3 separate regions of the Homo sapiens genome follow, and all the other regions are linked to region 1. The links are contacts of gene promoters, found by promoter capture Hi-C in human tissues and cell types (Jung and others, 2019). All regions are on one chromosome and are shown on one strand. The core of a region is centred on a gene start or on the middle of the fragment in contact, and the rest is flanking DNA. Distances in the headings are between cores, read along the strand shown.

Region 1 (3,961 bases), core at 474-2,973:
TTTTTAGTAGAGACAGGGTTTCACCATGTTGGCCAGGCTGGTCTTGAACTCCTGACCTGCCAGGCTGGAGTGCAGTGGCATAATCTTGGCTCACTGCAAACTCTGCCTCCCGGATTCAAGTGATTCTCCTGCCTCAGCCTCCCAAGTAGCTGGGACTACAGGTACTTGCCATGACGCCCGGCTAATTTTTTGTATTTTTAGTAGTGACAGGGTTTCACCATGTTGGCCAGGATGGTCTCGATTTCTTGACCTCGTGATCCACCTGCCTTGGCCTCCCAAAGTGCTGGGATTACAGGCGTGAGCCACTGTGCCCGGCCATATGTGTTTAATAACCCAGTTTGTCTCTTCTTGCCTTCAGGACATCAAACGGTCATGCTACTGGAAGCTCGGACCATGGCCCCTTCTGCTGGGCACCCTTAGATAGGCCTCTGAGGGAGATCTGATTGCCATTTTCCCGAAACAGTGCCCCCTATCAGCAGGAAGCAGTTAAGATCTGTCTTTGTCCCTATTCTTATCCTAGTGGCAGTTAGATAGACTTCTTTAGAGCGAGGAATGAGCCAGATGGGAAGGGTTCCCTGGTAAAACTCCAACTGGCCTGTGCACTGCTCTGGGGTGGAGCCACAGAAGTTCGCTCCTCAGTTTGCAGCTGGGAGGAGCCTGGCCCTCCTCTTCCTCGGGAGAACCTGGGATTTAATCTGTGAGGTGGGAAGCCTACAACTAGGAGAACTCTGGCTCTGCTGAGTCCCTGTTCCCCTTTTTCTTCCTTTACACCCAATAAAACCCTGCCTTACCCTTCAAATTGTCTGCGAGCCTAATCTTTCCTGGCGTGTGACAAGGACCTCCACCGTCTTTAGCTGAACTAAGGAAAAGTCCCGCAACATTTTCATGTGTGCCTTTGTATTTTTATTACATATATGGATGTCCCTAAACAACATACATTATTGTTTTGCTTTATATATTAAAAAGGCATTCTGCAATTTGCATTTTCCCCAGCCTTGTGTTTTGAGATTTATCCATGTGGATGCGGGAAGCTGTAGAGCACTTCCCCTGCTGTGGGGCAGTTTGTTTTCTCGCTGGCGGACATTCAGCTTGTTGACAAGGTTTTGCAATTACAAGCACCTCTGCTATAGGTATTACTGTACCTGTCCCTTATACCTGCGATAGTGTCTCCCGGCATACAGCCAAGAATGGGTGTGCACACTCCTCGACCTGCTCCCTTCCACTTCGTCAGCCTGGCCGGGGGCTCTTTCAAGAGGTGGGGCCGCTTGGTGGCTTCTAAGTCGTGCCTCTCCCTCTGGGTAATAAACGCCTTGGGGGCAGGGACTTTGCAGTCTTGCTTATTGAGGCGTTTTCCAAAACAGGGACCGAGGGCTCTAACACCCGTGCGGAGGGTGGCCGGCGGGGGCGGGAGTTTGGCAGAATGCGGCTGGAGAAGGTGGGGCGAGGGAAGAAGGCTCCTGGCCTGCAGGGGCCTCTCTTCCGGCTGTTTTTCCTCCCGAAGACAAACACTCCCAACGCAGGGGCGCAGAGCCTCGGCTTCTTTCCTGGCCAGCTCCCTCAAGGCAGGGCCTAGCATGGCCCGGCCCAGCCCCTAGGTTCCCCCGCCCGCGGCTCCCGGGCGCCTCCGCCTCCCGCGGTGACTCAGGCGGCGGTGACGGCAGCGGAGGGGGCGATGACGGGCGCGCGGGCGTCCGCGGCGGAGCAGCGCAGGGCGGGGCGCAGCGGGCAGGCAAGGGCGGCCGAGCGGGCGGCGGGCATGAGCGGGGCGGGCAGGGCGCTGGCCGCGCTGCTGCTGGCCGCGTCCGTGCTGAGCGCCGCGCTGCTGGCCCCCGGCGGCTCTTCGGGGCGCGATGCCCAGGCCGCGCCGCCACGAGGTGAGTGCACACCTCCTACCGCCGCCCGGCCGGCTACGAGCGCAGCGTCTCCTCTCCGCGGCGCCGCCCCTATCTCCGTGCGCGGCGCCGAGCGCTAGGCCGGGCCGGAACCGCCCCCGTGGCCTGGGCTGTTGCTGCGACTTCGCGGTCCCGCGCCCCAGACCGGAGGCCGGACTTCGGGGTGCTGCGGCCGGGCCCCGCGGAGGCGGGGGAGGGGGCGGTTCGGACCGCGGCGGAGTGGAACCTGGGCGCCCAGGCGGCGCCCACCCCAGCGGAGCCTGCGTCCTGGCGCCTTCCGTCTAAACAGAGGCCGCGGATCGGGACGCCGGGACCCCACAAACTGGCAGCCAGGAGGCGGGCCAGCCGAGGATCGGGGGGGCTCGGACTCCCCCTGCACCCAGTCCACTGTTCGGAGGGACTTAGAGCAGGGTCCCTTCCCTGAGGGCCTCGCCCCCGAGGACGTGGCGCCGGAGCCGTGCGACCCATTGGCTTCAGCGGGTGGGAAGCCTGGGGCCGGGACGCGCGTTCGCCCCGCGCTGGGGTTGAACCTGCGTGGATGTGCGGCGGGTGAGGAACCGCGGAGAAGGCGGTGGGGGCGCGGCCTGCAGCCCGGTCCCGGGCGAGCCCTCCGCGCGTCTCCCCTCGGCGCGTTTTCCCTCCAGGGTGACTGGGAAGCCGCCGCCGCCGCCGCCGCCGCCTGGGAGGGGCCGGGCTGGGCGCTTTTGCCCCGGGCCCCGGACCCCGGGCGTTTGTCCGGTGCGCTGGCTTAAGAGGCGCTCAGCTCATACCGTGATTGCACAACTGGCTTGCTCTCCGAACTCGGTGGGGAAAACGGTGACAAATACAGATTCCAGGTCTCCATCTAGACCCCTGCACCGGGGAGCCCCAGGCCCTAGGTCCTTCGCACACGCCCCTCCCAGAGGGGTCGGGCAAGCATCGCAAACCCCTTTGGGTAGGAGGGACGGTGGGAGTCACCTGTCTTTCCCCTCTCGCGCCCTTTTCTTGGTCAGAATACGAAGTTTTAGTGTCTGTGTATGGAGTTCAAACGACCCCTCCTCTCCAAGCAGAAGCTGGAGGAGAAAGGCGTTGTGAATTTTGGAAAAGCGGCTCAGAGGATTACATTTTGTGCGATCCTTGATCCACCCAACCTTCATCTCCTGCGCTCCCCTCCTTTAAAATTGCAAGGACCCCGGGGAGGTTATGTAATCTGCCTGATCACAATTTGTCAGGGACTGATCCCGCCGAACACTCTTTGCATTTTAGCGCCAGTATTAGCTTATCAAAGGGCACTTACTTTTAGAGAGAGGTGGTTTGTAAATAGTAATCACACGTAGTGAGGGGAAGCCGCGTTGGGACCGCAAGGCTTTCCCTGTCACCTGGAGCCCATGTTTGGGCCGCACAGCTTTCCTACTAAAAACGTCATCATCTTCCTTCTTTTTGAAAATTCAGCATTTGCTTGAAGAAAAAAAAAAGTAGACTATGTCTTTAAAAATATGCCCAGCAAAGATAACTCACGAGCAGAGAGCTAGACCAGAAATTAAATATTTGGAAAGGAAATAAAGGTGTAATACACAAGCAGCACATTTATCCCCGCACCATTGGAAGGTGACTTTATTTGGTAATTTGCCCACCAAGACGAGGTAGACCAGAGGAGAGAGAAGGAAATAATTGTTCTTTTGTCTGTAACGCTCTGGGGGTATTGCCCTGGAATTTCTTAGGTCAGCTGCTGTGTGGGAAGGTGACAGCTTTTTCTTGAAGCTGAACATCAAGCTCAGTTTCGAGGTCATATTTGATGACTTATTTGATGGCTTAGTAATTGGGTCCTTTGGTCGTGTCTGTAAGTGATACAGACTGTTATTATTATTTTTAAAAACCACATTCAAATAATGCAAAGTGAAAAAAAAAGGTGTCAAAATCCGCTGGCGTTACTCTGACAGTCTCTAGCTGTGGTTCCCTAGCTGTGGTCTTCACCCTCGGCTGCACACTCGAATCCCTTTGGGAGGTTCGTTGTTTTTTGTGGGAAATTAAAAAAATCATGCTGATTGGGCAGAGATTCTGATTTAATTGGTCTGGAATGGGGCCAGGGC
Region 2 (3,961 bases), core at 1,044-3,543, 310 kb after region 1:
TTGCTAAAATGTATGCAAACAGGAGGTTTCAGCCAAATTGGTTGTTCTTTGCCTTTCCCATCATAATGCAGACTTCAATTATTTCTATAATTTTTTTTAGAAAAAAACAAAAAATACTTCTGTTTCCACAAGTCAGTGGAGAGTTGGCACAGAGGTCTGTGTAGTTCCCTGAAGAGAGTACTTAAGTGAACTTTTCAAGAAAATACTTTCTGATTTATCTAACACATACTTGGCATGAGAATAATAATTTAAAATACCTGTTTTTCCATCAATGTAAAGATTTTCTGCAAAGTATTCCAGGAAGTGTTTTTTGTCAGATCTCTGTGATCACTGGGTCTGGGTAATGGATGAGGGAAATGATGAAAAGAAAATAAATTCTGTTCAAATGTAATTAGTCTAATTTGGTCGTGTCTCAAAAATACTATTAAAAAGATTTTATAAGCTTGTTTATTAAAATAATGACAAATATCAAAGTCATATCCATGGGGACCAGATTACAATATATTTATGCTGGCTTATCATTGTTATTGTTTTTCTCCTTTAGCTTATTAACATGAAATATTTAAGCATTGTATACCTTCTGTATATCCGAATCTGATAGGAGTTGATATTCATTAGTCTGCTAGCTAATACTGTAGGCCCAATCTACAGTTTATGATTGTAATTTTGGTAAATATTTAACCAGACAACTCATCATATATTTCATTCACCAGGTGAAGTCATAGAGATTATGACTTATTCTCTCTTCTCAGGGAACTCACACTCTGGTAAAGTAGATAGATGACCAAGAATTACAATTACGATGCAGTATAATCAGTGCTGTAAGAGATATTTGGAGAGTGCTGTGGAAGCATGGTAGAGAGGCAGTTAGCTACTTAAAAAGTGTCAAGGAAAAGGGGGATTGCTACTCTCTCTACTCATGCAAAAAAACAAAAATGCTGGTAGAACTCAGGACCCCATGCCTAAATATTTCCTGCATTATAAAAGAATAGGAAAGAAATATCCATTAACAAAAAGCAATACTTCTAGTTCTATGAAAACTCAATATTTTTCACTTGCATGTTCTTATTTAGTACTGTGTGTTTTTTTTCTTGAGCAATTTTCAAATATGAATTATCTACATCTTTCACCAATAGGAGAACATAGTACAGCTGCTGAGGACACCAGAAACCAAGGGCATTTATCAAAACACTATCTTCACTTACATTATAGTTTGGCGTAAGTCATTCAGATAGTGAGCATCAAATTCTATACTTTATTTCTAATTGTCTAAAACCTTATATATCCTATAAGCTGTTAAAGGATTTTTTAAAGTAAAATTATGACTCTCATACAAATGTAAAATAAACACATGAAAGATTTTATTTAAGTCATTTATGAGGGAACCAGTAAGATGTTACAACCAGTTCAAAGGAGACTTCAAAGTTGAAATATTATATATATAGTTGAATCAGAAGTGCTAAAATGTGGGGCCAGGCACGGTGGCTCACGCCTGTAATCCCAGCACTTTGGGAGGCTGAGGTGGGCGGATCACCTGAGGTCAGGAGTTCAAGACTAGCCTGGCCTACATGGTGAAACCCTATCTCTACAAAAAATACAAAAATTAGCTGGGCATGGCGGTGCCTGCCTGTAATCTCAGCTACTTGGGAAGCTGAGGTTAGAGAATTGCTTGGACCCGGGAGGCTGCAGTGAGTCAACATCATGCCACTGCACTCCAGCCTGGGTGATAGAGTGAAATTCCATCTCAAAAAAAAAAAAAACAAAAAAAAACAAACTCCCCAAACAAACAAACAAACAAACAAAAAATGCTAAAGTAAATTTACAAATTGATACAAACAAAACTGGCCTTTTCTACCAGGGCAGGGGTACATGCGGCTAAATCACTTGTCTCTCCACCAGACATACTTTTCACATCATTAGACCAGTGTTAGATGGGCTGCTGTCAGTTATTTATAACTTGTAAAGTTACAAAATAACTCTTCTTGTGAAGAAGCTTGGGGCCCCGTAGAAGCAGATAACCCAGACGCTTATGCTAGATGTCTTATTTTCCATTGAATACACCCAGTAATTTTTTTGTTCTATTTAAAAGTCTTTCATAATTTATCCTTACAAAAACTATATTCATTGTTAGTCCATTGTATTGCAAAAGACCTGCCTGCTATTTGTGGAGCATTATTCAGACTACCTTGTTTGCCCTAGCTTGCAGGTTTTTATTGAAAAAAAGAACAGTCATCAATATCAGCATGCACACACACACACATACACACACAAGCATATATATATATATATATACACACACACACAAGCACATATACATATATATGTTTAAATAGTAGTAATCATTTTTGGTGAGTGACCATTTCAAAATCTCTTATCAACTACAAAATGAGAACTGTAGAAAATATAATACTATAAGCAACTCATATGTGAAAATGGTACAATGAGACAGATTTAGGACAAAATTGACCTTAAGGTTTTGATTCTTTCCAAGACAGCATTTCTGGGTTACTGCTTGGAAATAAAGGTATACTTTAAATTTCATTGCTGTCTAATTTGATCAGAAAGCTTTTTGTGGGTTTTAGTTGTTAATATTCTGAAATGTTAAAGGGTTGACCTAAGTTTAAATGCATTGTACTAGTTTCAGGGAAATATTTCAGGCATCATTTTTATGAGGCATTTTCTGCATTATTTTACATTTTTGAGTTGTGAAGACAGTGTACAAAAACAAAAAAATTCCCAGTGCTTATTTTTTCTTTCTGTCCAGACAGTCCTCACTTGTGTGGTATCATGTTAACTGAAACTTCTGCATATATGAACCATGTTGTTGATTTGCACTCTTCCCCATGCAAAGTGAAAATTGCATGCCTTTGCAAGTTTTTAAATACAATGTCTTGCTTAAAGAGTGCATTTTTCTTTCTTTACGCTATGAGACCAGCTTCTGAGTGCCAATGTTGTTAGCCTAAGGTATCTCTTTGGTATATTACACAATATTGAGCAACAATCCTCAATCAATCACATGAATGCATATAATTTAGTGGTATGTGTCACTTCAAGCATTATTTGGTCTCCTACCTCCTCCATCCAAGAACTAAAAGATGAATTTAAAAGAAAGGTAATAAAGTTTTTCACTTTTATGCCTTGGGGGACTGAGCCCCCATTTTGAAACTGAAATCCAGAGTATCAATTCTGAAAGATGATTTCTTACATAACTTAAGTACACATACTTCTTATAAATTTGATTTTACTGATAAACTATAGGAAAGTGATTTGTTAAGTAGAAAAGTGATCACAATCAGGTTGCTTCTTTCTTCCCTTTAAGGAGTCTAAACACTAAGAGTAAATTAATCATAAAGTGATAAAACAGTTGATATGAGTTTTCAGATTCAAAAAACAAGAGAACTTTGGAGTTAGGCCAGCCCAGATTCAATTCTCAGTCCCACTTCTTGCCAGGCGTACAATCTTGGGCATCATTCGTTACATTGACCTAAAGTGTTATCTGAAAAAAAAATGGGGTTGGTGATAATAGAGTAGTTACTTGAAATCACAGTTTTGCAGTGCCTGACAGTTAATAAGGGGCTTGGAGATATCAGTTGCCTTTGCTCTCAACGTTTCTCCTGCCCCTTGGCCCCAGTCCTGGAGCACAGAAACTACAGAAAGGTTCCAGTGCATCTCAGTGGAGGCACACAATGTCCCTAGTAATCTCTGACCTCTCCCCCAGGTGCCACTAGTTAGGGAGTCTAGTGAAATGCTACACAGGGGTAGACCAGTCAGTCCAATGCATGCATGGGTAGAGACTAGACAGGGAAAATACAAGTTTTTTTCCTAGCTGTCTTTCTTTTTCACGATGCACCCACAGATGAGCCCTCCTCCCAAGTTTATGACAACCTGCCCTTTATATAAGGAATACTTTTCATAAGCCTTTGTCTAATGATGCTTTATAAACATTAATAACACAGTGTAT
Region 3 (3,961 bases), core at 1,008-3,507, 290 kb after region 1:
TGTGCAAAAATGACAAGCATTCTTATACACCAATAACAGACAGACAGAGAGCCAAATCATGAGTGAAGTCCCATTCACATTTGCTTCAAAGAGAATAAAATACCTAGGAATCCAACTTACAAGGGATGTGAAGGACCTCTTCAAGGAGAACTACAAACCACTGCTCAAGGAAATAAAAGAGGATACAAACAAATGGAAGAACATTCCATGCTCATGGGTAGGAAGAATCAATATCGTGAAAATGGCCATACTGCCCAAGGTAATTTACAGATTCAATGCCATCCCCATGAAGCTACCAATGACTTTCTTCACAGAATTGGAAAAAACTACTTTAAAGTTCATATGGAACCAAAAAAGAGCCCACATCACCAAGTCAATCCTAAGCCAAAAGAACAAAGCTGGAGGCATCACACTACCTGACTTCAAACTATACTACAAGGCTACAGTAACCAAAACAGCATGGTACTGGTAGTAAAACAGAGATATAGATCAATGGAACAGAACAGAGCTCTCAGAAATAACACCGCATATCTACAAATATCTGATCTTTGACAAACCTGAGAAAAACAAGCAATGGGGAAAGGAGTCCCTATTTAATAAAGGGTGCTGGGAAAACTGGCTAGCCATATGTAGAAAGCTGAAACTGGATCCCTTCCTTATACCTTATACAAAAATTAATTCAGGATGGATTGAAGACTTACATGTTAGACCTAAAACCATAAAAACCCTAGAAGAAAACCTAGGCATTACCATTCAGGACACAGGCATGGGCAAGGACTTCATGTCTAAAACAACAAAAGCAATGGCAATGAAAGTCAAAATTGACAAATGAGATCTAATTAAACTAAGAGCTTTTGCACAGCAAAAGAAACTACCATCAGAGTGAACAGGCAACCTACAGAATGGGAGAAAAGTTTTGCAATCTACTCATCTGACAAAGGGCTAATATCCAGAATCTACAATGAACTCCAATAAATTTACAAGAAAAAAACAAAGAACCCCATCAAAAAGTGGGTAAAGGACATGAACAGACACTTCTCAAAAGAAGACATTTATGCAGCCAACAGACATATGAAAAAATGCTCATCGTTACTGGCCGTCAGAGAAATGCAAATCAAAACCACAATGTGATATCATCTCACACCAGTTAGAATGGCAATCATTAAAAAGTCAGGAAATAACAGGTGCTGGAGAGGATGTGGAGAAATAGGAACACTTTTACACTGTTGGTGGGACTATAAACTAGTTAAACCATTGTGGAAGACAATGTGGCGATTCCTCAGGGATCTAGAACTAGAAATACCATTTGACCCAGCCACCACATTACTTGGTATAAACCCAAAGGAATATAAATCATGCTGCTATAAAGACACATGCACCCATATGTTTATTGCAGCACTATTCACAATAGCAAAGACTTGGAACCAACCCAAATGTCCAACAATGATAGACTGGATTAAGAAAATGTGGCACACATACACCGTGGAATACTATGCAGCCATAAAAAAGGATGTGTTAATGTCCTTTGTAGGGACATGGATGAAGCTGGAAACCATCATTCTCAGCAAACTCTCACAAGGACAAAAAGCCAAACACTGCATGTTCTTACTCTTAGGTGGTAAATGAACAATGAGAACACATGGACACAGGAAGGGGAACATCACACACTGGTGCCTGTTTTGGGGTGGGGGAATGGGGGAGGGATAGCATTAGCAGATATACCTAATTTAAATGAGGAGTTAATGGGTACAGCACACCAATGTGGCACATGTATACATATGTAGCAAACCTGCACGTTGTGCTCATGTACCCTAGAACTTAAAGTATAATAAAAAGAAAAAAAAGTATGTGTATGTATCTATACATATTTATAAAAGAAGGCAACATAGTGACAGCCTGTTAGAGACCCAATTTGCATAATAAAAGATCAGGGTGGGGTGGCCAGCCTCTTCACGTACTATATAAAGGGCACACCTGGTTTAACCAATCCTCTGTGCCCTATATAAGGCAGACATGACTTCCTCAAGCTCATCTATAAACCAACTGCATCTTGCTATGAACCTGGAAACCATTTGGGATCTCTTCCTCTGCACCAGAAAGCTCTCTTCTTTGTTTCACTTATTAAACTTCTGCTCTTAAACCCACTCCTTTTGTCTGTGTCTGTGTCCTTGATTTCCTCGGTGTGAGGCAATGAACCTTGTGTATTACCCCAGACAAATGAGGCAGCTTCATTGTGGGGGCTTGTCCAGGATTATCAAAAGGGTGAGTATAGGAGTGGACCTCAACTCTGTCCTTTTATTTCAGGGCTCTCAGCCTCCATTTTAATTATTTAATTATTTTATTTTTTTGAGACAGAGTCTCACTGTATCACTCAGGCTGGAGTGCAGTGGCATTATCTTGGTTCACTGCAACCACCACCTCCCAGGTTTAGGTGATTCTCATTTCTCAGCCTCCTAAGTAGCTGGAATTATGACACATGCCACCACACCTGGCTAATTTTTGTATTTTTAGTAGAGATGGGGTTTTGCCATATTGGGCAGGCTGGCACCAAAGTTCTGGGATGAGGTGTGAGCCACCACACCTGGCCCTTAACCTCCATTTTAAAGTCAAATCAAACCATATACTGTGTGTCTGATGGCCACCTAGATACCTCTAGTGTGAGCCATGCTTCTCAAGGCTCAGATGACAGGCTTGTTGGGCTGTCATGATAGTGAATCCACTAGTGCCCTCAGGTTGCTGGGCTTATTGGTTATGTTTCAAACCAATTTTCCTTCATGGAGGAACTAGCCATCTCATGGGGCTTGAAGAAGTCCTAGGGCAACTGACAATTTCTGGCCAGGGCTAAACCTTGATGTAATTCAAAAGCTTTGGGACTGAACTCAGCCTCCAGCTGCTCAATTGGATCAGCAACAGAATCTCCAGCTTTTCTATTGCAGAATGTTCTCCTTTCCTATCCACCACCATCATGTCTCCTCTCTCTGTATGCAATATCATGGGAATTTTTACAGTTCAGAGAAATAGTCCTGTTAGGAAAGATCAAAAAATGCTATAGTAACTACAAATATAGCTCAAGGGAATGCCACTTTTGTAACTTTCTAGAAGCAGAGGTCTCCCCCAGCGAGTGTTTCTACCCTTCCTCTGGCAAGCATATGGTATTTCTAGGTCAGCAGCGTCAACTAGTGGAGTATCCTTACCATGAGTCTCAGTGTTGGTCCTTTGCTGAGACACTCCAGCTTCCCAATTCTCCCTTTTTGTGCCCCTCTACCAGATTCCAGGGTTTATGGCTTTCTGTAAATGGGAAAAACTATGCCATGAAAGATCAGGAGGAAAATGTCCTCTGAAACTGTTTTAGTCTGAACACTGTCCCATCAGCAGGAAAACCACCATTTGATCCCTATGTTCTTTTAACACACCAATCCTGCTTGCAGTTAAGACAATACTTAAATAGTAAGGGAATTTTAAGTCCAGAAGTTAACCACTACCATTCTCTAGGGGTAAATCCTTTAGCACGACCCACAATAGCAGGATATAGAGTTCAATCTTGTACACCCCCTCCATTAAAGGGGCCATGCCCAAATTCAACTATTACATAGTCTTTCCTGAGATCCATTTTTCAGGGAGCCATGAAGATCATACAAGTCTAGGAAGTCAGGGTAATCAAAAACAGAGAACTAGGGCTGCATGGGTACACATGACTAAACTCATCACTTAATTCCTCTGGTTCCATGGCTGGGGAATCATGCCTGCAACCATGGGTAGCATGTTTAACAAGGTGCCAGGAGCCCAGGAACCAAAGAGAGAAAACAGTAGGGGGAATGCCCCCACTGTCTTCCCCTCCACCCTGGGCCATCCCAAGGAAAGGATCCTTTTATTCTCAGTTCTCTTTCTAGATGGGTAACAGACCATCTTTGGCCTGTACTCCTCTCAAGTGTATTCTAAAGCACTGGGACTCATTTAACCC

What was found. Contacts are between HindIII fragments. The study calls those that stand out against the background at their distance.
Region 2: a fragment that was not itself captured here is called in contact with the fragment with the promoter of HGSNAT in region 1 in 1 of the 25 tissues and cell types used here (hippocampus).
Region 3: a fragment that was not itself captured here is called in contact with the fragment with the promoter of HGSNAT in region 1 in 1 of the 25 tissues and cell types used here (mesenchymal stem cells).

What each region holds. Positions count from the first base shown.
Region 1 is chr8:43,138,741-43,142,701 of GRCh38, forward strand. HGSNAT (heparan-alpha-glucosaminide N-acetyltransferase) reads left to right here and starts at 1,724. Exons shown (of 18, transcript NM_152419.3): 1 at 1,724-1,874. The coding sequence starts at 1,757. RefSeq lists an enhancer at 386-680 and silencers at 1,524-2,313, 2,324-2,703. The HindIII fragment of the contact is 19,681 bases long and covers 1-3,961 here.
Region 2 is chr8:43,448,526-43,452,486 of GRCh38, forward strand. It overlaps the pseudogene LOC100420534. Among named protein-coding and RNA genes, the nearest start is that of POTEA, 160 kb to the left of the region's middle. The HindIII fragment of the contact is 5,741 bases long and covers 1-3,961 here.
Region 3 is chr8:43,428,029-43,431,989 of GRCh38, forward strand. No RefSeq gene overlaps it. Among named protein-coding and RNA genes, the nearest start is that of POTEA, 140 kb to the left of the region's middle. The HindIII fragment of the contact is 7,456 bases long and covers 1-3,961 here.